7 separate regions of the Homo sapiens genome follow, and all the other regions are linked to region 1. The links are contacts of gene promoters, found by promoter capture Hi-C in blood cells and fetal thymus (Javierre and others, 2016). All regions are on one chromosome and are shown on one strand. The core of a region is centred on a gene start or on the middle of the fragment in contact, and the rest is flanking DNA. Distances in the headings are between cores, read along the strand shown.

The links. Contacts are between HindIII fragments. The CHiCAGO score rates a contact against its expected background, and 5 or more counts as called.
Region 2: a fragment that was not itself captured here is called in contact with the fragment with the promoter of MAT2B in region 1 in 3 of 17 cell types (naive CD4 T cells, non-activated CD4 T cells and total CD8 T cells); the score reaches 16.8 in naive CD4 T cells.
Region 3: a fragment that was not itself captured here is called in contact with the fragment with the promoter of MAT2B in region 1 in 1 of 17 cell types (total CD8 T cells); the score reaches 7.3 in total CD8 T cells.
Region 4: a contact is called between a fragment that was not itself captured here and the fragment with the promoter of MAT2B in region 1, in 3 of 17 cell types (activated CD4 T cells, total CD8 T cells and total CD4 T cells). The highest score is 11.0, in activated CD4 T cells.
Region 5: a fragment that was not itself captured here is called in contact with the fragment with the promoter of MAT2B in region 1 in 1 of 17 cell types (total CD8 T cells); the score reaches 7.3 in total CD8 T cells.
Region 6: a contact is called between a fragment that was not itself captured here and the fragment with the promoter of MAT2B in region 1, in 1 of 17 cell types (naive CD4 T cells). The highest score is 6.4, in naive CD4 T cells.
Region 7: a contact is called between the fragment with the promoter of PWWP2A here and the fragment with the promoter of MAT2B in region 1, in 1 of 17 cell types (naive CD8 T cells). The highest score is 5.5, in naive CD8 T cells.

What each region holds. Positions count from the first base shown.
Region 1 is chr5:163,503,804-163,507,235 of GRCh38, forward strand. MAT2B (methionine adenosyltransferase 2 non-catalytic beta subunit) reads left to right here and starts at 1,816. Exons shown (of 7, transcript NM_013283.5): 1 at 1,816-1,946. The coding sequence starts at 1,884. RefSeq lists enhancers at 1,549-2,355, 1,573-1,662, 1,703-1,822 and a silencer at 1,993-2,132. The HindIII fragment of the contact is 7,455 bases long and covers 1-2,979 here.
Region 2 is chr5:168,486,761-168,490,192 of GRCh38, forward strand. RARS1 (arginyl-tRNA synthetase 1) reads left to right here. Exons shown (of 15, transcript NM_002887.4): 2 at 1,842-1,976. Among named protein-coding and RNA genes, the nearest start is that of RARS1, 2.0 kb to the left of the region's middle. The HindIII fragment of the contact is 1,788 bases long and covers 987-2,774 here.
Region 3 is chr5:159,199,978-159,203,409 of GRCh38, forward strand. The region is part of intron 2 of RNF145 (ring finger protein 145); the gene reads right to left. Among named protein-coding and RNA genes, the nearest start is that of RNF145, 7.9 kb to the right of the region's middle. The HindIII fragment of the contact is 2,432 bases long and covers 670-3,101 here.
Region 4 is chr5:159,263,028-159,266,459 of GRCh38, forward strand. UBLCP1 (ubiquitin like domain containing CTD phosphatase 1) reads left to right here and starts at 263. Exons shown (of 11, transcript NM_145049.5): 1 at 263-333. RefSeq lists enhancers at 1-239, 1-503. The HindIII fragment of the contact is 1,429 bases long and covers 960-2,388 here.
Region 5 is chr5:159,410,284-159,413,715 of GRCh38, forward strand. No RefSeq gene overlaps it. Among named protein-coding and RNA genes, the nearest start is that of LINC01845, 54 kb to the right of the region's middle. The HindIII fragment of the contact is 487 bases long and covers 1,523-2,009 here.
Region 6 is chr5:160,018,083-160,021,514 of GRCh38, forward strand. The region is part of intron 2 of TTC1 (tetratricopeptide repeat domain 1); the gene reads left to right. It overlaps LOC124901124 (a long non-coding RNA gene), which reads left to right. Exons shown (of 2, transcript XR_007059025.1): 1 at 1-949. Among named protein-coding and RNA genes, the nearest start is that of TTC1, 11 kb to the left of the region's middle. The HindIII fragment of the contact is 1,261 bases long and covers 1,216-2,476 here.
Region 7 is chr5:160,117,555-160,120,986 of GRCh38, forward strand. PWWP2A (PWWP domain containing 2A) reads right to left here and starts at 1,896. Exons shown (of 2, transcript NM_001130864.2): 1 at 1,251-1,896. The coding sequence starts at 1,834. RefSeq lists silencers at 892-1,311, 1,432-1,611, 1,712-1,811, 1,972-2,021 and an enhancer at 1,448-1,947. The HindIII fragment of the contact is 17,972 bases long and covers 1-3,432 here.

The DNA.
Region 1 (3,432 bases), core at 566-3,065:
GCTCTCTTTAAATGTATAGACTTAGCCACCACACGAAGTTGTATATTGTCTATGTTAAGAATGGCGTTTGATTCGCATAGACCCTACCATCATTAAAGAAAATGATTAAAAACCATATCCAAACATATGCCCCTAGAACTGTACCCAACTTTTACGGGGAAAGTATCAAGTCAGATTTTCAAAAGCAGCCAAGTTAAATTCTTTCTGTTCCTCAAGACTAGGCTGCTCTGAGAATCAGAATGCTAATTGCATATGCTTGCCCTTAAACCTGCTTCACGTTGAAGAATGAAGAATTAATTTTCTTTTCTCCCATAGAAAGGTAAGATTACATCACGTGTTGCGACTAGAAACTTTAAACCGAATTCCCAGTTAAGAGAAAAAGTAGTAAGATGATCTTGGCTGCTCCCCCGGCCCTCTTCCCGCCCTCTTCTTTGTTGTCCCCTGATTATGCTTGTTTAGCGCTGGGGCAGTCCTCAAGGATTCCCTAAATAAAGCCAAACTAATGAACAGTAATAGCCTGTGTTTAAAAAAAAAAAAAATCGGAACATAAGAAACCTCAGGCTGTCTTCGATTACTGTTCTAGAGAAACTTTATGTTTACACGAATAAGGAAATGAGTTTTTGTTGGGGGTTGAGGAGGAAGGAAAGTCATGGTGTTCTGACGTGGAAAACTTCTTTAAAAGGCTGCTTAGTCTTTAGTTTGAAAATAAACCAAAAAGGTTTAGGAGTCGGGGAAAGGCCCTAGGAAAATCCAGACAGTGGTCACGTTTGTGGACGACGTTTAGAGCTTGCTATCCTGGGCACACAAGAACCCTTGGACTGTTCGGTGCAAAGTTGGCAAATCCTACACGGCCTGTGCCAGGGTTTACTTTCTGCATCAATTTCACAGGCGTCCAGCCTGGCTGAGGATTTTTTGCGGTTTTTAACTGGAAGGGAAATAAGTCGGCATCAGCACTTAGGGCTGCTTAACTTTTAAAAGGTGGTAGAACGCCCAGCCTTACACGCTGCTGCTTAAATTCTCGGTGCTCACCAAGGCTGGGCTCGTGTGGCCCAATCCTGCAATCCCCGAGGCGGTGTTTCTTAAAGAGTGGGCTTGATTCTGGTTAAACCCATTAAGAAGTCGGACCCCGGGCTCGTTTCTTGTTCTGTAATTATGGGTAAAGTCCAAGGATCTGCGTTTTGAAGAGGTACCTAAGTAGTTCATCTTCCTTCCCCCTACAACTTTTTATTTTTAATTAGTTAAAAATAGTTTTACATTTTTGATATCTCACACACAGGTTTTTTCTTTTTTTAAGCATCCCAGGAAGACAAATGGCTCAGACGCCAACCCTTTTATTTTTATTCCTTGTCTTTTTCTAAATCTTTCAAAACCCCCACCTAGAGCTCTAGAGATGTGTCCATTATGCTCTACCCACCTCCGCCCCCGCCCCCATGACTTTAAAATGCTTTTTATTCCACTTTTTATATTGCTCAGTCGATCCTCATGCACTGCGCAGTCTGCAAACTTGAAACTCAAGGCGATCCACTTCAATCTTTTCCCGAGTCAAGAAAAAAAGGAAAAAAAGTAGAATAAAAAGCACTCAAATAAAATCTCCGAAACAAAACCTGAATTCACTGCCTAAGGTCAGGGCCTTTCTTTTGTGTGTCGCTTTAAGCATCGGCGCGTGGGCTGGGGGCAGACCGCGCGTACCCGCCCTCTTTCTGGGGCGTCGGCGGAGCGTGGCCAATCAACGGGCGCGGCTATGGCAGCGGAAGCCGGAAGCGGCGAGCGGGGTCGTTCTGGGCCTAGGGGAGGCGGGCCGAGGGCGTCTGAGCTGAGGCCCGCGTCGATCCTGGGTTGGAGGAGGTGGCGGCCGCTGAGGCTGCGGCGTGAAGACGGCGGGCATGGTGGGGCGGGAGAAAGAGCTCTCTATACACTTTGTTCCCGGGAGCTGTCGGCTGGTGGAGGTGAGGGAGTCGGCCTGGGCGTCTCCGGTGGGAGCGGGGGCGCCGAGGGGGACGAGCCACCGGGGCTCGGGCGGCTTTGCAGGCGTATTCCGCCCGGGTCAGAGCCTCCGGCCGGGAGTGGTCTCACCGCCACCCTCCCAGCCCCGGATCCGAGGGGGGCGCCACCGAGTTTGTTTATCTCAGCGCACACGGGTCAGTGTTTTTTTCTTCCAGCCACTGCGGCAGGAAGCAAGTAGGTGGAGGTTTTACTTTCGAGTTCTGTCTCTGCTCCTGAGGACGAAGAGGTTTTTCAGAATTGTTTGTTTTGATTTTGGTTTTCCCCGTTTATTCATCTTTGGTTCGTATTTCTCGATCTTACAAGTTCGTAGGTTTGAGAAAGAACAGGAAAAGGTGACTTCTCACAAATAACAGTGCTGGAGATGACAACTTATTGAACTCTTAAGTTCTCAGCACTATGTTATGCACTTGACGGGCATTACTTTAATCCTCCACTGTGAGATACTTGTTATTGCCTCATTTTGTAGACGAGAAAACGGGCATAGAGGGTGAGACATTGGCCCAGGTTCATTCCGTAAGGTTGGAGCCTGGAATTCAGATACAGGTTTGTGTGACTGTCTTGGGCTTTGAACCACTACGGAGTTTCCCTGAAGGAAGATTATGGTGATGATTGGAAGATCCATCTCTGGTGCCCCCCTCGCCCCCGTCCCATCCTGCTCCATTCCACTTAAGGGCCTCCAGCATTAATCTGTCCACAGAACATATCCAACCCTGGGGATAAGAACACTACTAATGCCCAGACCATGTCTTTTGGAGAGAGTAGAGAATATAGGAGATGGCTGTTTCTGTTATTGCAAAGTTTTCATGCTTCCAAATTTACTTAGGGTTTTCAAATCACTTTGGTTCTTTGAGGGTAAAGTTAGGATAAATGGTCTATTAAACCTCTATGTTCCTAGGTCCTCCAGACCGTGCTGAGTGCATGTTACATACGTTTACATTTATATGTATGCATTTGTATGTGTACGTGTGCATATAAAGCTTAATCTACTTTCACAAAAAGAAGTTCAGTATAAAAATGAAAATAGCTTTTCGTGTTTTCCTTCATTAAAAATGAAACAACGAAGAGCTTGGCACAGACTTACTGCTCTCAAAACCTGTAGAATTAAAGCTTACTGACTCATGAGAACGAGAACTGTCTCATAGTTAACGTTAGAGAAGCATCCTGGAGTGGTTGTTGTTAGTAATACTGTCTGTGGAGCACAGTAGCGTCGCAGTAGAAGTTAGACCAATCCCACCTAAGTAGTCAGAGAATCTTAAAAAGTAAAGCCCAGTAATGTTTACCTTAAGGGTCTGTTTCTGGGGAATTAAAAAATTAAACATGGAACTGTGCCAAGTTTTAAAGTTTCCAAAAACGACAAGGTATTTACCACTGAAATTTGGGAAAACCACATACTAATAGTATTCCATTCTTTACTTTTCTAGAACATTT
Region 2 (3,432 bases), core at 631-3,130, 5.0 Mb after region 1:
CCCACCCTCTCCCAGGCCTCCCCCAAACCAGCGTCTTCGGTGGGCTGGAGCCTGGCATGTTCAGAACAGTTCTCTCCCTACAATCCACCTCCTCTTCTGCATACACACGCGATTTAGGGGATGCGGGGAGATAGACAAGGGGGGAATACATTCAGAGCTCTGGGTCTTGGTTTGCAGCTCAGCCGCAGTTCTTCCCGGGTTACTGAGCGAGAGGATTCCTAATAAGCCCATGGGGTGATTCATTATCAGACCAGCGGAGCTTGCTCTGTGCCCTCAGCATTCGTCGGGAAGGAGCAGCCACACCATATAAAAGTGAAAGCGGCCGGGCGCGGTGGCTCATGCCTGTAATCCCAGCACTTTGGGAGGCCGAGGTGGGCGGATCACGATGTCAGGAGATCGAGACCATCCTGGCTAACACAGTGAAACTCCGTCTCTACTGAAAATACAAAAAAACTTAACCGGCTGTGTTGGGGGGGGTCCCTGTATTCCTAGCTACTCGGGAGGCTGAGGCAGGAGAATGGCGTGAACCCGGGAGGCGGAGCTTGCAGTGAGCAGAGAGCACACCACTGCACCACAGCCTGGGCGACAGAGTGAGACTCCGTCCCCCTACAAAAAAAAAAAGTGAAAGCGGAACAGTTCCATTACCTTTTATGCCCAGGTGGGGAGGGATGGTAGGAAGATAGTTCACAGTACTCTGTCCTGTTACGGCTGTATACTTAATCAGCAGTCACAAAGTACAAGTTAGTCAAGTAAATTGGCAAGCTCTTTACATTTCTGAGCCATTTATTTATCGGTATGTATTTATCTTTGCCTCACTTGGTTGTGATAATCATGAAGGTAATTTCTGAAAAGTGTTTTTAGCTCAGCTCCTGGAACATAATGTATGCTCATTTTTGGCAATTTGGTTTTGGCTGTAGCTATCTCCCAGTAAGTATTCTGAAATTTCAGGTGAGGAACTCCCCCTGAGTTTTGCAGTTTAAGTTGGAAGCTTTATTTCTTTCTGAATTGACATGTCTTTAGTTTTAGATGTTAAACTACAAAGCCTGGTCTGGTCTAGTCTAGGACCTAAGACACTGGAAACAGGAAGAAATGGGAAAATTGTTTAGTCCCAGAAAGGGTGAAAGGCAGACCCTTGAGCTATTTTGAATGTGACAAAGGACATTTGGGTTTTTTAAGAGTCCCAGGTCATAGGATTTGGGAATAAAAGCAGGTTGGTCAACCTGAAACTTAACTACTCTTGCTAAATCAGAGTGTTTATCGAGCCAAAGAAAAGAACTAGGGATATGAGACATGAGGCATATCCCATTATATACTTACTCCGATTCCTGTCTCCCAAAACACATGTATGTGTGGTTAATATATTCTTTTTCTTTTTCTTTTTTTTTGAAACAGAGTCTCGCTCTGTCAAGCAGACTGGAGTGCAGTGGCACGATCTCGACTCACCGCAACCTCAGCCTCTGGGATTCAGGCAATTCTCCTGCCTCAGCCTCCCAAGTAGCTAGGATTACAGGCATGCGCCACCATGCCTAGCTAATTTTTGTATTTTTAGTAGAGACAGCGTTTCGCTATGTTTGCCATGCTGGTCTTGAACTCTTGGCCTCAAGTCATCCACCTGCCTAGGCCTCCCAAAGTGCTGGGATTACAGGCGTGAGCCACCATGCCTGGCCAATATTTTCTTATTAAGGATAATATGCTAACGTCAGCAAAAATCTCAGAGGAGAAAGAAACACAGCTCATCAAAGGGAACATTAATGATTCCCATGGTCTATGCCACGCCTTGGTAGAGAGGGGAAATGTGGAAGTAAGTTTATGGACTGAAAAAAGTGCTTTTTTTCCCACAGGAAGAAGAGATTAAATCTCTGACTGCTGAAATTGACCGGTTGAAAAACTGTGGCTGTTTAGGAGCTTCTCCAAATTTGGAGCAGTTACAAGAAGAAAATTTAAAATTAAAGTATCGACTGAATATTCTTCGAAAGGTGAGTACTTTGGGTTCCAGTTTTATTCTCCAGTTTGAATCATTATAGCTTTTTTAAAGCCTTTGTTACCAAAGATTCTGGAAGTATATCCTATGGAATTTGGAAAAGAAGCATAGAAACCCTATTCTTTTCCCTGCATTAGACAACTTAGGACTGAGGTAGTTGGTGCAAATAGTGACAAGTTGGTGTTGTCCTGTCCTTCAGGACTCTTTGAAATGTTTCATCCTGCTAACTGTTTGGCTAACTTAAAGTAGGATTTAGGTAGGGTTGAGGCATTTCTTTTTAAAAATTTATTTATTATTTTTTGAGACAGGGTGTCTGTCACTCAGGCCAGAGTGTGGTGGCATCATCACGGCTCAGTACAGCCTCAACCTTCAGGCTCAAGCAGTCATCCCACCACAGCCTCCTGAGTGGCTGGGACTACAGGCGTGTGCCACCACATCCAGCTAATTTTTTTTTTTTAATAGAGATGGGGTCTTGCTGTGTTGGCCAGGCTGGCCTCGGAATTCCTGGCTTCAAGCAACCCTCCCTGTCTTGGCCTCCCAAAGTGTTGGAATTACAAGTATAACCTACTGCACCCAGCAAGGTTGAGGCATTTCTTTCAACAGTTTATGCCCATGCCTTTTTTAAAAAAACATGTTTGATTTTTAAATCATTGCCTCTATCATAAAGGAAATATTTGAAAATACACCTGCATATTTTCTCTGCCCTAAGTTGGTTATTTTACAGTTTTATATCTTACATAATCATTTGGGGTTTTTTCCACCTGGTATTTCAAAACACTTTTTTTCCCCATGAAGCTTGTGCTATGTTTATTTAATGGTCTCATGATTTAACAGTGTTTTACCAATTTTGTTTTAAAAAAATGAACTTGCTGCAGTTTTTTGGCCTGCCTTTCGTATTTGGTGATGACATATCCCAGAGTGTTGACCTCATTCCCATAATTATTCTCCTGTGTGTATATATTACTGTCAGACAAACTCTGCAGGCATTACATCCTTTTCCCAAAGCTGATTGATCCATTTACTCACCTTAGACTCTATCTTCCCCACTCCCATGACATCTCTCATATTATCTTTTTTTTTTTTTTTTTTTGAGACGGAGTCTCACTCTTGTTGCTCAGGCTGGATTGCAATGGCACAATCTCAGCTCACAATAACCTCCACCTCCCAGGTTCAAGCAATTCTCCTGCCTCAGCCTCCCCAGTAGCTGGGATTACAGGCATGCACCACCACACCTGGTTAATTTTGTATTTTTAGTAGAGACGAGGTTTCTCCATGTTGGTCAGGCTGGTCTGGAACTCCTGACCTCAGGTGATCTGCCTGTCTCGCCTTCCCAAAGTGCTGGGATTACAGGCGTGAGCCACCGTGCCCGGTGTCCATATTTCCTATTTGTGATCTGCTATGCTCGAGTCTCATATTACCTATATGTGATCTGCTGTGCTTGTCTTTGAGTC
Region 3 (3,432 bases), core at 636-3,135, 4.3 Mb before region 1:
ACATAAAGGGGGAAAAACTCCCACTTACGATAGCAATAAAAAAGATAAAATACCTAGAAACAATAAATGTCAGGAGGCTGCGGCAGGAGGATCACTTGAGCCCAGGAGTTCCAGGCCAGCCTGGGCAACACAGCAAGAACCCATCCTCCCCACCTGCCCCCAAAATTAGTAATAATGCAATCTAAATTTTAAAAAAAATCAAATGGGTTGCTTTGTTTTTGGAATGAGACCTAGACAATTTTGAGACAATTCTTAAATTCACATAGAAAACTAACCATAAAAAAAAAGCTCAGAGGAGGAAATAAAGAAAACTGAAGGGACTAACCCTGTTAGACAGTAAAATATAATCTAAACCCTCAACAAATAAGACAGCGTGTTAATAGTTCACAAACAGGCAGACAGACTAAAGGAAGAGAAGTTCAAAAATGAAACAAAATATATGTGAGAATTCAGTATATAATGAGAAAAAAATGGACTAAATAGGTGAGGATGACTGTGTGGTTATCTAGAAAAAATAAAATTATACCTATAACACACTATTCATACAGATAAATGAAGCAAAGATTTAAATGTAAAAATAAACCCACAAAAATAGTAAGATAAAATACAACAGAATTCTTTATAAACTCAAGAATAAAGAAGGCTTTTCTAATTGACTCAAAATACTAAAGCTTAAAAACCTTCTAAATGTCAAAAAATCATAAGCAAAATCACTGAGTTGAAACTGGAAAAACTATTTTCAACTTATCACAAAGGATTAATTTCCCTAATGTATACCAAATTCCCACAAATTGGTAAAAAAAGAATCTCACAGAAAAGTGGGCAGGGTATATAAACTGACAACTCTCAGAAGAGAAAATACAGGTTTTTCTTAAGTATGTGTATGTTCAATTCATTCATAATAGAAATGCAAACTAAAACTACATTGAGTTAAAAAAATCAATTTTTCCACCTATTGGAGTAGCCAAAATATTTGTGGTAACAGGCTGTTTTGATAATATAGGATTGTAGGAACTCTCAACCACGGTTTTTGGAGGTACAAAATAGTAAAACCCTATGGAAAGTACTATCTGTCAACACTACAAATATATATAAGTTAACCCTTGAACAACATAGGATGGAACTGTGAGGGTCCACTTACATGTAGATTTTTTACAACCAAACTCTTATGGAATACAGTATTTGCAACATGCAAAACCCACGTATACAGAGGGCCAACCTTCTGCATACATAGTTCCACAGGGTCACTTGAGGGACCTGAGTATGCGCAGATTTTGGTATACGTGGGCATCCTGGAACCAACTTCCAGCATACACCGACGGACCACTGTACTCTTTAACCCAGCAACTTCGCTTCTAGTAACTTAGCCCCAGGTTATATTTGTACTTGTTGAAATTATAGCTATACAAAGTTATTTAGCACAACGCTGTACAAAATAGCAGAAGGTAGGCTATCTAAAATGTCCACCAATGGAGTAATTAGTTCAATAAATTATGGTATATCCATACGAAGATACTATGCCAACGTAAAATGCAATCGGGAAGAGGAGAAATGAGGCCTCGATATCTACTCAAGAGAGTCTTTAAGATCCGGCAGACTGTCATCATAAGAAAAAGAGCACAAAACTCTATTTCATAAATATCTAAAAGCAGTAGTTATGGCTCCACATACATCACAAACAAAAACCATGATTCAAAACCATGTATACCATGCTAACATCTGTATAAAAAGGGGGGAAATATACATTTTTTATATTTACTTATATATACATAAAAATATCTCTAGAATTATACAGAAAGAAATAAAAGCTACATGGTGTTCAGAGTGAGAACTCAGCGAATGAGTAACAGAGATGGGAGGGAGATACTTTTCATTAAATACTTTTTATGCTTTTTTATTTCTGAATGTAGATACATTATTTTATTAAGGTGAAATTTGATTTGTATTTGAGGGTGAAATTCTGTAAACAGGAGCATTACATAAACACTATGTAATATTTTGACAAAGGTAACTCCAACCAAAACATTGTTCAAGCTGAAAATATCTGTTCATGCAACCACTGAGCTTACTCTACTTTGGCATGGAGTAAGCATATTTAAGATGGCTCAACTAACTTTATAAAATTATAAACCAGATTATGAACTTCAATTGTACTCGAAAACATTCAATTTCTAAAATTAATATTCCTGGTTATCAGGCAGCTGTTTTTATAATAAATATTTCAACCTATTCAGAAACAATATATAAGCACATTTTTAAAACCACAGTATGTATGACTTTGCTGATTAATCTAAAAATCTAAGCCAAGTACCCAGTTGTTCTACAACTGACGGGAATTACTTTCCATAAATTGGCTAACATACAAAGCCTTTCATAAAAGGCTGAGAATTACAGTGTTTTGCAACATAAAGGAACTTTCCCATTTCAGAGACATTCCCAAGGTAGTGCTATCCACAAAAGATGAGTTTACTGAACCGAAACGTTTTGTTTCTAGTGCACCATCTCTTCTACTACATCATACTTCTTTCCACAACAGCTTACCTCTTAGGGATGTAAGGGGAACGTTCTCAGGGCTAAGTTTTAGAACCCAGAAAGTGATAAAAATAAATCTCAGAGAGACAGGACAACTCTTCATGACTTTATAAAAGATATATTTTGTGACAGGCAACTCTAATAATAAAATATTAGCAAAACCACTATAGTACCATTCAAACCATGTCTGGAACTCTGCAATCACAACATTAATAAAATATATTGCTATATACATTACAAATAAACCAAAACCTAAAAAGTAAGGATCATGATTTTTATTCTAGGTAAATTTTATCTGTTTCATGCTTGTATTTCTTGACTTTAATTTCTTCAATCTCTTATCATTATTTTTACCACTAACCCCATAGCATATCAATGATAGTTCCATTTTTCTTGAAAGGGGATTCAAGCAAAAAAAAAAAAAATTATAGTTCCAGGAGGATTTTTTTTATGGAACAAAGTATTATAGTATCATTTCCCAAATTTCATTTAACTGAACACTTTATCTTCAGCTGATGTTAATGTTTTCGTTTATCTCAGGGAACAATAAAGAATGTTGCATTTTAAAAAGCTTACTTTCTGAATTACTACCAAACCCCAAAACAAGGACAAATTAGAAGGGGCCAAATGTCTCTAAAAGTATTTCTCATTGTTTATATTTCATCATATTAAAATCTAGAATGTTTTCTTCTGCCTTCCAGTTTTATCCAGTAAAATAAATCCAATACTGCTTACTTTCTTGTAGCCTTAATAATTCATGTGCAATGATAAGACAAAACTATCAAGATTCATAAACACTCATCAATAACTATATCACTATCATCTTAATGAAAATGAACTTCATTTTACCCAAATTCAAAAAGATACTAAGACATAAATCAGAATGCTCACTAGAAGATT
Region 4 (3,432 bases), core at 424-2,923, 4.2 Mb before region 1:
CGCCTCAGCACCCATCCGCTCCCAGCCCAGAACGAGCGCACGCGCAGAACGAGAGAGCGGCCACCCAGGGATCGGCGCTATCTGCACAGCGGTTACAGTCTCGGAAAGGCCTGGCTTCTTCGTGGCTTTGTGGAGATCCCTTACAGCGGCCATTTGATTAGCACCCGAAGAGATTCAAAGGAAGCAGTTGTTCCGTCCCCAACATATTTCCGTTTCAAACCACCCACTTCCGGTTTTTCAGCCGGTTCCGGTCCCGCCCTTCACTTCCGGTCGCTTTCGGTCTCTCAGCGGCCGGTTTCTGCGTCCGCTGCCGCAGGTTCCACCGCGCTCCAGGTGAGGGGTTGCGGGGCACCCTGGCGCGCTGCCCTTGGAGACGCTGTTGGGGCTCGGGGACAGTGGCTTTGCGGCCCGCGCGGCGTGGCTTGCACTGCGGCGGGCTGGGGATAGTGTCTGTCCTAGTCTGACGCCCAGGCCCCTAGCCCCGGCCCGCTTAGTCGCGGGGGCCGCTGTCCTCCCATCCAGCAGTCTAGCCTATTTGGAGGGCTTTCTGTTTCCCAGTGGGTTTTGCGTCCCCAAACTTCATTCCTCCGTCTTCTCAGGCTTGTCCATCCCTCCCCTCAACCTCCTTGTTGAAGGCATCCCGGCCTTTTTGGTTCTGGAGCCTCCACCTGCCTCCTAATGCTCCCCTAAGTCAGTTAGCACAGCCCCCGACCCTGCACCACCTCGCAGTTGTTGCTGGTGTGCGGTTCTCGCCGGAGTTCTTAGTGCTTCACGGTTATCTTTTGCTGGGATTGTTGAAAGTTAACCTCCCGTTAATTCCCAAAGTGTTACTTTTACTGCTATACTTTAAAATTTCTTCATTTGCCACTTTTTAGGTTTGTGGTCCCGGGCAAGTTTAATTTCTTTTCAGGATTCTCATTTGTATAATGAGGACAACAGCTGTTGGTTCAGGATTGTGAAGCTTCAATGAGATAATTGTTTAGCATGTTTTTATTCCATCATGAACACCATTTGTATTGTGTTTTACAGTTTACAAAGTGCTGTCACAGGTGTTACTTCATACCTTAACACTACTCCTGTCCAGTGAATATTAGTAGCCTCATCTTGTTGAGAAGACTGAGGCCAAGAGGTGGATTGACTAGGCAAAGTCAACACAGTATGTTAGGTAGAACTCCAACCTAAACAGCTATTCTTGACCCTAGGTTGACCATATGGAAGTGTATTCTTTGCTTGCTTGTTTGGGTTTGCCAACTTCACTCCTCCCCACACCCCAAATCATTTTTCAGCTTATAAATCTGATGGGATCTGAAATGATACAAAATACTAAGAAAGAAGGTTAAATGTGAAAGCAAAATAGCTCATGCATTTATATCACACTGCTTCATTGGTGTGAACGGTCTTAATGATGAAATAAGGTTCAGTAACTTTTAAACAAATCTTAAAGACATATGCATTTACAATTTTTATGGTGTTTGTTTCGCTTGGCCCTTTAAGGCATTTGCCAACTTGGAATTTCCACTTGTGGGATAGGTGCTTCGTAACGTTTTTATGCTGCTTTATTAACCATATAGAGCCCATGCCCTCTGGCACATTTTTTTTAAGGCTGAAAACATTGAAGAGCCTGTAGTACTGACTCTCAAATTTGAGCATTCATCAGAGGTGAGGAGGACTGACCTTGTTAAAACACAGATTCCTAGGTCCCTTCTCTCCACCCCAATTACATTTCTACCAAATTACCAAGTGAGGTCAATGCTGTTCGTTAGCCCAGGGACCATGCTTTGAAAACCACTAGTCTAGAAGAGCAATCACTTGTCCAGGGTCACCTGGAACTCAGATGATTTCACTCCAAACTCTGCACTACTACGCATCACAATATATGCGATATTAGTGCTGGTTGCCTTTCTAGCTCTCGTAGGATTCCCTTTTATTCTTATGTCTTACAGAAAATATTTAAACTGTATTTCAGTTTAACTCAAAAGGTCCACTTTTAATTGAAGAATATAACATTTGTTATAGTTCTGTCTAAAATGGAATACGTTACCCTAAATTAAGACACTTGCTTTACATTTTCAGTAGAACACATTGTAAACATAGGAGTAAATATACATTTATAGTTCATATTTGTATTCATATATGAGTAAATATAAATATGAATTTATGGCTCTCTCTTCTAATTGGCCTTTTAGTAGGAGACACTGTTTTTAAATTATTTTTGGAAGTGGAGATTAAAAATTTAACCTCTTTCTTGCAGTTGGTCCTAATAGTTGCATGAAGAGTGCAATCAAATGTTTCATCAAATAAGTGAAAGCATTGGAAATACCAATACCTTGAGATTAGAAAATCCAGTTCTCTGGACTGTGGGAGGAATGAGTTTAATGAAAAATAGAAAGCTTTATGCAGGAAGAGACATATGTTTGGTTATTTACATGAGTGGCAGCCACTATATAATCTTTGTGTGCTTAGATCTGTACCCATGGGTTTTGTATTTTCTGATTGATATGGTTTGGCTGTGTCCCTACCAAAATCTCAACTTGAATTGTATCTCCCAGAATTCCCACTTATTGTGGGAGGGACCCAGTGGGAGGTAATTGAATCATGGGGGCCGATTTTTCCCGTGCTATTCTTGTGAATAAGTGAATAAGTCTCATGAGATCTGATGGATTTATCAGGGGTTTCCGCTTTTCTGTCTTCCTCATTCTCTCTTGCCACTGCCATGTAAGAAGTGCTTTTTACCTTCTGCCATGATTCTGAGGCCTCCCTAGCCATTGTGGAACTGTAAGTAGCTGGGATTACAGGCGCCCACCACCACCTCTGGCTAATTTTTTTTTGTATTTTTAGTAGAGATGGGGTTTCACCACATTGGCCAGGCTGGTCTTGAACTCCTGACCTAAGGTGATTCACCTGCCTCAGCCTCCCAAAGTTCTGGGATTACAGGCATGAGCCACTGTGGCCAGCCTTGGGTATGTCTTAGCAGCATGAAAACAGACTAATACGGTAAATTGGTACTAGTAGAGTGGGGCATTGCTGAAAAGATACCCGAAAACGTGGAAGCAACTTTGGAACTGGGTAACAGGCAGAGGTTGGAACAGTTTGGAGGGCTCAGAAGAAGACAGGAAAATGTGGGAAAGTTTGGAACTTCCTAGAGACTTGTTGAATGGCTTTGCCCAAAATTCTGATAGCTATATGAACCATAAGGTCCAGGCTGAGGTGGTCTCAGATGGAAATGAGGAACTTGTTGGGAACTGGAGTAAAAGTGACTCTTGTTATGTATTAGCAAAGGTACTGGCAACATTTTGCCCCTGCCCTAGAGATTTGTGGAACTTTGAACTTCAGAAAGATGATTTAGGGTATCTGGCAGAAGAAATTTCTAAGCAGCAAAGCACTCAAGAGGTGATTTGGGTACTGTTAAAGGCACTCAGTTTTATAAGGGAA
Region 5 (3,432 bases), core at 516-3,015, 4.1 Mb before region 1:
GGTGTGAGCCACTGCGCCAGGCCCTGTTACTTGTTTTTAATTAAAAAATTCCAGCTCCATCACTTACTGATGGTGTGACTTGGTCAATTAATCCCTCTAGGCATGAGTTTTCTCATTTATAAAAGGAAGACAATATCTCATAGCTGTTCTGAAAACAGACTTCAGTGCTGTCTGCTTCCAATCTTACTTTGCATAATTTGGAATCTCAGGCTCCCCAGGCACACAGCTTAAAGAACCTTTCAGTGAATCCCAATTGAGTTGTCCTTGTACCTAGTACATAGTAGATGCTCAGTGAACATTTGTTGACTTGCTGGCTGACTGAATCCACTTATGTAGATATGATCTAAAAGGAAGCATATGTGTAGGGAGCTATGTGCCTAGTACATAGTAGGCATTCCATAAATGTTTATTGGACAGATGAATGTGTACACACCTGACCACAAACTGTGGCAAAACAACTTGCTTGCTCCAAAATGCACACATTTTTTCCCCCACGTTGTACCGTAATGGTTGCTTTAGAAAACAAACTGAAATCCCTACTGACTGAGTCTCATGTTAGCACTGTTGCTAGAAAAAAAAAAAAACACCCCAGATTTCCACAAGTATTGTAGTTTAAACAATGCAAAGTTATTCTCTTACAGTTCTGTGGGTCTGACATGGTCTCACTGGGCTAAAATCAAGGTGTCAGCAGGGGTATGTGCCTTCTGAAAGCTCTAGGGGAGGATCTCTTTCCTTGCGCATTCAGGTCGCTGGCAAAATTCATTTCCTCTGGTTGTAGGACTGAGATGTTGTTTCCTTGCTGGCTATCACTGAGGGACATTCCCAGCTTCTAGAGGCCACCCGAATTCCTTGACTCACGCCCAATTCTGCCATCTTCAAAGTCAGAAACTCTTCTTTCCTCTCACCTCTCTGACTCATTTTTAAGGAAACTGACCCCGTTTTTAAGGACTCGTGGTTGGATTAGGCTGTCCTGGGTAATGCGGGATAATCTCAGAGTACTTAACCTTAATCTCATTTGCACAGTCCCCTTTGCTATGTCGTAACATATTCAAAGATTCTGGGGATTAGGTCATGGATATATTTGGAGGGGTTATTATTCTACCTATTGCAGCATCCATTATCACTTTAGAATGGAATGGTTTCTCAGAACAGGCAGTTGTCTGTCTCCCAGCAAAGAGCTCCAGAAAACTAGGCCAATGAAAGGGAAATTTGGATGAAGGCAAGAGAGGTGAGGCACTGGCAGTAAATGTGATGGCAGGCCTGCAAGGGATGCTACAGAAAGAGGTTCCTGGTTTCATGGAATCCAGGTTATTAAAAGAAGAAATATTCACAAATGCCAGGAAAGTTAAATTTCATGTCTCTTACAATTTCCCTTCAGATCAGTTCTGCCAAAGATAAAGCGATCTTCACCTCTGTGAAAAACAGTAATTCCTTTCTCCATGATGTTCATGATTTGGTTGATGGGTTATTGGTTCATCGCTGCAATTATAATTGAAGGACATTGTCTTTGCTGGTTTGGTGAAGCTTCCAGATGTTATTAGAAGGGGTGTTCCTTTAAGCTCACCCAGCATTCTCTCACTTATAGCTGGGCATTAGCTATACAAGAGCTATTTGGTCTCTGAGAGCAAAGGTTCAGCCACTAAGGAAGGACCTGGTGTCCAACGTAGGCCTTTAGATTATTTCTGGAGCTTGTCTCCAGGGCCTAAGAGGTGACTCTGGCAGGACACCATCTGTTTCAACCCTATTTTTTTTCTTCTTTCTGCCTCGGCAATCCTCTTTTTTTCTTTTTCTTCCTTTGTCTCTTCTCTCCTTTCTAGTGTTCTGATGTTTTAGGATCAAAATAATGAAAAAGAATAGAAACCATTTCAACTCAGAAAATAATTCAAAGATGGGAAAAAGGTGTGTACCAAATTCATTGCTCTAATCATTTCTGTTCTGATAAAAGGAGTTTACAGCAAAGGAATAACTTTTCTGTGTCTCTGAGGCTTTGGAAAAACAAGGCATCAAGAAGCTTTGGGGTGTGGTGGGTGTGGTGGGGCAGCCTACTGCTTGTTGAGGTAATGCAAACTAAGGAGAAAGAGGTGTTAGCTTCCTCCGAGGCCAGGGCGTTTTAGGCTGCAGGTAAACCATGGATGTGGTTCTACAGATGTTGCCACAACAGGAAGACAAAATCTCACAGCTAACAGAGGTCACAGCTTTTGGAAACAGTGGTTGCGACACAGAGGAAACTCCCCCTCCCAGCCCTACCCCAAGCACATCCTTGCTTCTCTCAGTCACGCCAGTTACACCAACAGGGGCAGCTCTGGGGAGGACATTTGGAAAATAGTCAAGAGAGGGTGAAACCGCTGGCATGATGTCACCAACAAGAGGCTACCCCCTGGGGAAACCTAACAGGAAAAAGGTAGTTGAGCCAGGAAAAGCCACCAGACCCTTTCTCTTGGCTTGAGGCATCATATACATTTGAATAATAATCAAATTAACAATGTAATATGACTGTTTAGCAACAATGATGTGCTAATCATGGTTTTACATGGATTATCTTTAGTCATTAAATTCTCTACATCCTAGAGATGCGGAAATTGAGAATGAGAGAGGTTATGAGAGCTTTGAAAGGCCACAGAGCATGTGTTGTGGCTGAGATTCAAGCCCAGCTTTACTGATTTTAAAGCTTGTCTTCTCTTTCCCTCCCTTGCTTCCTTTTTTTTTTTTTCAATTTTCTTTCTTGCTTCATGTGCTTTTTTTTTAAAGAAATAAAATGTTACCCCCTCATCGATAATCCCTTTGTGTCTCTGCTGTCTGCCCTGTCCCACCCGCCTGCCATCCTTGCCAGCAGCAGCCTCTCAATTGAGGTTAGAGTTTCTCTCCCACCCTTCATTATGCATGTTCATGGCTATAAACAATCAGTATGCATGTTTTAAAAATTTACGTATATGAGAAAGAGCTTAAAGTATTAATTTACGGAGAAAAAAATACAAATGGCTATTAACCATCAGAAAAGATTCATTAAAAAAAGAGTAATAAAAATTCAAACCACATTGAAGCTGGGTGCAGTGGTGCATTCCTGTAGCCCTAGCTACTTAGGAGGCTGAGGTGGGAGGGCGGCTTGAACCCAGGAGTTAGAGGCCAGCCTGGGTAACACAGTGAGACTCCGTCTCTAAAAAAAAAAAAAAAAAAAAAAATTCACTAAAAAAACCCCCTTCACATTGAGATAGCATTTCAAAAATCTGCCAAATCGGTCCATACCCAAGATTTGATAACAGTGTATAGAAGCGGCTGAGGGAAAGACGCACTTAAACTTTGATTGTGGTGAGTAAACTGGTATAATCTCTGTAGAGGGCAATTTGACAACATATAACAAAAATGCAAATGCACAAATCTAGGTGTGGTGGCTCATGCCTATAGTCCTGGTACTTTTGGGAGGCTGAGGTGGGA
Region 6 (3,432 bases), core at 596-3,095, 3.5 Mb before region 1:
TTAGAAGAATTAGTATCCTTATAAAGTATACCAATAAAAGACTTGAGGGAACCTGTTGGGCCCTTCTACTCCCCTTCCACAAAGTGAGGATGCAGAAAGAAGGCACCATATTGAAGCAAAGAACAAGCCCCTTACCAGACGCGAAATCTGCTGGTGCCTTGATCTTGGAATTTCCAGCCCCTAGAGCTGTGCAAAATAAATTTCTATTATTTATAAATTACTGAGTCTGTTATTTTGTTATAGCAACCTGACTAAGACAGGTGGAGAGGACTGCTTTAGATTGGCTGGTCAGGAAAGCCTCTCTGGAGAGGTGGCCTCTCAACAGAGACTTAGGGGAGGGTGGCACTGGGAGCAGCCAAATGTGTGACCGTCTGAGAGGGAAGCATTGCAGACAAAGAGAGCAGTTGAATAAAGCCCTAAAGTAACAACAAGTTTGGTGTTTTGGCATGTTCAAGGAATGGAAGAGCCGATGGCTGAAGCATGATGATTAAGGAAGAGAGTGGGCTGATAGTAGGCAAGGGTCTGATTATGGAATAGTTCCTAAGCCGTAGTAAAGAACTTGAAGTTTTTTCCAAGTGCAGAAGGAAACAGATGGATAATTTTAAGCCAGGGAGAGACGGAAGTTATTTACATTTTAATAAGAGAATTCAGTTCTTATACAGAGAATGGAGGGGTATGAGGATGGAGGAGGGACATGAATAGAACATTTGAGCCCAATTAGGCTCTAATGCAGTAGCCCAGTGAAGATGATAGTAGCTTGAACTGTGGATCTGAAGAGAAGTGTATGATTTTGGGATATATTTCAGAGGTAAAGCAGACCACACATTGCAGTGGATTCGATTGGCGGGATGGAGTGAGACGTTAGAATGATTCCTTGTCTTCAGCTACTGGATGGATGGTGTGGCCTTTATTAATATGAAGAAGATGAAGGAACTTTGAACTTATCCAGGTTCTGGTGATTTAATTCTTTCCTGCAAACAAACATTTTTTATTTGTAAGCCAAAATGCAGATTTAGTCATTTCAATGGGTTTGCTCCCTTTCACTAGTGGTTTGCAAATGGTATTCATTTACATGTACACATAAGGGATCCAAAAGTCTGTTGCTTGGTGAACATGGATTCAGAATGCCTGGTATCTGGGATTTTAAAACATTAGGCTCTGAAAGTTTTAAGGATTATTCTTTAAGGTCATTTTCTCTTTAGGAACCATTATCAAAGCTTAGAAGTTTCAGTTTAGAACAGATGTTATATTTCAGTCTCTTCCCTCTGTCATTTTTCCTAAATTCCACATTACTTAATCTTTTGGATTTCCATGTTTCTGCCACCCTATTGCACCATTTTCATAATCTAATTAATGTTGTGGCTGTGGATGTGTTTGCAGGGAATACTCTCGATTGCTTCCAAAAAGTTCTCAGTAACTTCTTCCATAGTGGCCTGCATAGTCCTGTTAACGTCATGAGCAACCTTTCTGATTTTGTTGTTTCCCTTTTCTTTCATTCTTTTTTTTTTTTTTTTTTTTTTTGAGATGGATATTCCCTCTCTGTTGCCCAAGCTGGAGTGCAGCGGTGCGATCTCTGCTCACTGCAACCTCCGCCTCCCGGATTCAAGCGATTCTCTCTCTGCCTCCCGAGTAGCTGGGGCTACAGGCGTGTGCCACCACACCCAGCTAATTTTTGTATTTTTACTAGAGACTGGGTTTCACCATATTGGCCAGGCTGGTCTCGAACTCACATCATGATCCACCCACCTCGGCCTCCCAAAGTTCTGGGATTATAGGCATGAGCCACTGTGCCCTGCCTCCTGCCTCCCTTTTCTTTCATTTCTTGTTTTCTTTTTGTTGTTGTTGTTTTCTGTTTGTTTATTTTGAGACAGAGTCTTGCCCTGTCGCCCAGACTGGAGTACAGTGGCATGATCTTGGTTCACTGCAACCTCTGCCTCCCAGGTTCAAGTGATTCTCCTGCCTCAGCCTCCCAAGTAGCTGGGATTACAGGTGCCCACCACCACACCCAGCTAATTTTTGTATTTTTAGTAGAGACGGAGTTTCACCATGTTGGCCAGGCTGGTCTCGAACTCCTGACCTCAAGTGATCCGCCCGCCCCAGCCTCCTTTTCTTTCATTTCTAATAGGCATCCTTTGGAACTAAGGTGGTCAGTTTTACCAACTTCTTAGAGTTACCACTGTTGAACTTAATGCTGTCTACAAACGATTAAATCAAATCCTAGAAGGAGCTTAGATTTCTGATCCCAAGTTTGTTTATTTTTATTTTTGTAGAGGCCCTTTCACTTGGCCTCCCAAAGTGCTGGGATTACAGGAATGAACCACCCTGCCTGGCCTGATGCTAAGTTTAAACCAGTGGAAATAAGGGTTGCTTGCTCTAAAACAGGGGTCGTCAACCCCCGGCCATGTACTGATACCAGTCTGTGGCCTGTAAGGAACCCAGCCACACAGCAGGAAGTGAGCAGCAGGCTAGTGAGCGAAGCTTCATCTGTATTTACAGCCACTTCCCATCGCTTGCATTACTGTCTGAGCTCCACCTCATGTCATATCCATGGTAGCATTAGATTCTCGTAGGCTTGTGAACCCTGTTGTGAATTGCACATGCAAGGGATCTGTGTTGCCTGCTCCTTACAAGAATCTAATGCCTGATAGTCTATCACTGTCTCTCATCACCCCCAGGTAGGACCGTCTAGTTGCAGGAAAACAAGCTTAGGGCTCCCACTGATTCTACATTATGGTGAATTGTATAACTATTTGATTATATATTACAGTTTAATAATTATAAAGTACACAATAAATGTAATGTGCTTGAATCATTATGAACACCCCCTTCCCCAAGACCCTAGTCCGTGGAAAAATAGTTCCCCACAAGAGCAGTCCCTGGTGCCAAAAAGGGTAGGGACCGCTGCTCTAAAACATTTGGAAGTTAGTGAGGTGTGTTTACATTATTTGCTGGCAGAAAAGTTAAAATGACGTTCAGTATTTCCTGTGTTTATTAAGAAAGGTCACTTTGTGTAGATCAGTGGTTTCCAGACTTTATTGTGTCTAAGCATCACAGGAAATGTATTAACCATGCACAGCCTGAGAAGTGTCTGACACCACACACCTGTGAGGCAACAACCAGGCATCTGTTTTGTTAGCAAGCCTCCCAGGTAATTTTGATATAGGAAGAACTGTGGCCACACCATGGGAAACAGATCCAGATGGACACAGATGACTAAGCTTCCAAAACAAGAAGTATTGACCTAACCCGTACATTGACTGCATCCAACATCGGAAGAACTGAATAGGAGGTTTTCTTTTACCTACATCCGTTGATCAAGGTCTAAAAACAACTTGTTGGGCCGAATTTAAGCAGTCCTGACATAGAAAATTTATTTCTGTTAAAGATTGAGTTTTGGGAAATAGAATTTTCTGATTTAAGAAACAAGGGACT
Region 7 (3,432 bases), core at 646-3,145, 3.4 Mb before region 1:
GCTGAGGCGGGAGAATCGCTTGAACCCAGGAGGCGGAGGTTGCAGTGAGACGATATGGCGCCACTGCACTCCAGCCTGGGTGACAGAGTGAGACTCCGTCTCAAAAAAAAAAAAAAAGATATTTGAGATTAAATAATACAGAATAACTGCTCTCATCTTTCCCCTCAAACACCATACTTCAATATGAAATTTTAAATGGCTTTTTTCCCCAAATGGGAAAGAAGGATTCCTGGGTCTTGATGGGAGAGCAAGCAAGTTTAAGAGTAAAACATACTAATAAGCCATTGCAAACAGGTGAGATACGATCAGAGCGTGTGCTGTTGCAGGAAACAGAATGGAAAGCCGTGAATGGGAGTCTCTGCACTTCATATCTGCAAAAGAAGAGAATAAAAAGGTTAACTCCAGACTTAGAACAGGTTCTCTTCCCCTGTTGAAAGCAGAGCCCAAAAACATTTTAAATCAAAAAATGAAAATGTGGTTAAGCCAAATTTGTAGATGAACTCAACCTTCTTGTCCTTAATACATAAACTGAATCCCAGGTGTTAGAAGTTACTTGAACATTTTTATGCTACACCACCTTGACATTAAAGGATTTTTTAAAAATCTCCAATCTCTTCTTTAAACTTTTCTTAAACTATCATTAAAATTAGCAAAATATGCTTCTCTGTTGAATGGTTAACCTAACGGGAATGACTTCTAACCGTAAGAATTACAGTTAAAAGGTTCATTTTAACAAATGCTCTTCCCCCTGTAAGGAGTGACAGGTAACCTTTTGGGAACCCCAATGTACACACCCCTTTCTCCAATCCCGCTAAAGTTAAACGTTAGAGGACAGACAAGTGCCTCCTCGCAAGCAATGCCCCCCGCCCCCCCGTCCCCCCGTCCAACACTCCGTTCTCTGCAAAAATCCATCTGCATCTTGCATTAACCCACCCGCCCAGTGACGGTGACTCCAGGCCAAGTCGCAGAAGAAGACCAGGCGTGAGGGGTGAGACCTGTGAGCCCATCTGCACCTGCACCCTCCCACCTGGTGGCACACCTGCCCCGCAGGCGCCCACCTGGGGCCGGGACCGCCCTCTCCCGGTCTCGCGCGCCTGCCCCACTCGGAGCGCGCGCCACGCGCCGCGCAGGACCAGAGGGCGGGGCCCCGGGCAGCGGGGAAGCGAGGGCTCGGGGAGAGGGGGCCGCCCGGGCTCACTCCCTCCCTGGGGACCCAGCGGACCGGAGGGTGCTGGGGGCGGGCGCGGTACCTTTTGGACAGATCCATGAGGACCCCGGAGAAGAGCTTCTCCCCGAAGCGGAACGACACGACAAGCGCGTCCTCAATGATGTGGTCCAGCGTGACCCGCACCTCCGAGCCCGGGATCAGTTGCGACACCGTGGAGTCCCCGCCCGCCGGCGGCACGAGCGCCGGGGCTACGGGCTGAGGCAGCGGCGGCTCCTCGCGCTCCTCGGGAGCCGGGGGCTGCTCCGGCGGCGATGCAGGAGAAGGTGGAAGTTCCGGCCCTCCCTGAGGCGCGGCTGCCGCCGACTCCGCCACCCGAACGGACAGTTTCTCCTCAGCCTCCAGCTCCGGCCCCACCGCCTCTGGGCTGCGGGCGAGCTCCCCCGGCGGCGGCGGTGGCGGCGGGAGCGGCGGCTCGTCGGCCTGAGGAGCGGATTGCTGCCCGTCAGTCTCGCCATCCGGCACAGACGCTTCAGTGGCCGTGACCGGGAGGGGGTCAGTGCCGGCCTCACTGCCGGGGATGGGCTCCATCTCCGGCTCGGCCTCGCCGGCGCCCCCCTCCCCGGGGGACGCTGCAGTCGCTGCCGCCTCTGCAGCCACGGCCGCCATTTTCTTCCTAGCTTCTCCCTCCTCCAACTCCGGCTGCAGCGGCGGCGGCGACAGCGCTGCTTGGTTCCCTGGGCCTTCCCCTCCCTCCCGCGAACACTTTCGTCCCGCCCTTTCCCTGATGCTCGTTTCTGGCACCTCGCCATTGGTTGCATTCTACACCCCTCCCGCACTTTTGATATTCCATTGGCCAGGGATGGACGTCTATCATCTAGTCAGTCCATCCTTCCCACGCAGAGTAGGAACTTCTCATTGGCCAGATGTGTTGTCAAGTGTGGAATCTGAGTGGAGGAATAGGGGGCGGAATCAAAGGGGGCGGGGGAAGTCACAAAAGAGGAGCCATATACTCATCGCCTCTTGCTATTGGCTGGAAGAGGAAATAAAGTTTTATGGTTGGCCTACGCTCCTGCCCATTATCAGCCAGGTCTTTGGAGGTGGGAGAAAGGATGGAATCATGTGGCGTGCCACTTCTTTCAAAGGCGGCCGAGGGGAGGAGTAACAAGGGAATGCGGGAGGGGAACCGCTTCCCAAGAATCTCTGCGCAGAGATCCTTAGAATAAATGTTATTTCTAGGCGCGGACTTCTTGCGGCCGCGTGTGGGCACGACAGGCTTCTTTGGGAAAGACAACTAAAGTTTGAAATACAATCCTACAGACACTTTTTGAGTGCCTACTATGCTAGTCACTGCACTAGGTGCTGGGGAATGGAATGTTCAAGACGTTCTCCATAACCTCATAGCAGCGGGCTCCAGCGGCCATGAGGAGTACGAGGAGTATTTTCCTTGACTTCTAGGAGTATGATGAGTATTTTCCTTGACTTCTCTCCACTTCCTAGGAACAAAGCACCTATTTATTAATATTTCAGAAATAGGAAAATGCTCATGAAAGAAGAGAGACACCATCCTCACTGGATTAAACTGATGACTGTTCCAGGAAGGAGTCTTGAGACATTGCTGGACTGATATGTGAACACTGCTTGTTCTCTCCAAATCCACTTGCAAAGTGGACGCACCTGGTCCCTGCTAAAGCCTTTTTCTTTCCTGGCTTCTCCAATGCCACGAGAACAAAAGATCTCTCACTTCAGTGTCCTGACGCCCCTACTTCTCTTACTTCCACATCAAGTCTTTTCGTTTGTCATCTCTGGAAGAATCTACTGAACCTATTTCTCTCAAATGGCACCACAGAGTCAGCCTTTTTTCTGGGAGAATGCCTGCAGGAGAGAGGGTAGAAAAACTGCTAGCAATGAAAGTAAAAAAAATAAAGTCCTGAAGAATAATTACAGCTAGTGTCTTTTGAGTACCATGTACCAGGCACTAATACAAACACTATAGCATATCATCTCAATCCTTAAAATTTTGAGGCACAAAGAGGGTGCCCAAGGTTACTCGGCTGGTAAATTGCATAGTCAGAATTTCAGTTTTACATGGAAAAGACTGAAAATAGCAATAAACAAATATCACCATATGCTCTGCCTATTTCAAACCAAGTGGCTCGTGGGGAAAGGCCAGTAGAAGATCCCAATCAGGGAAGTTTCAGAATATCATTTAAAAATACAGAAAGAAACAAATGTACTTAGTGTTCATTTTGTACCAGAGATTTTCC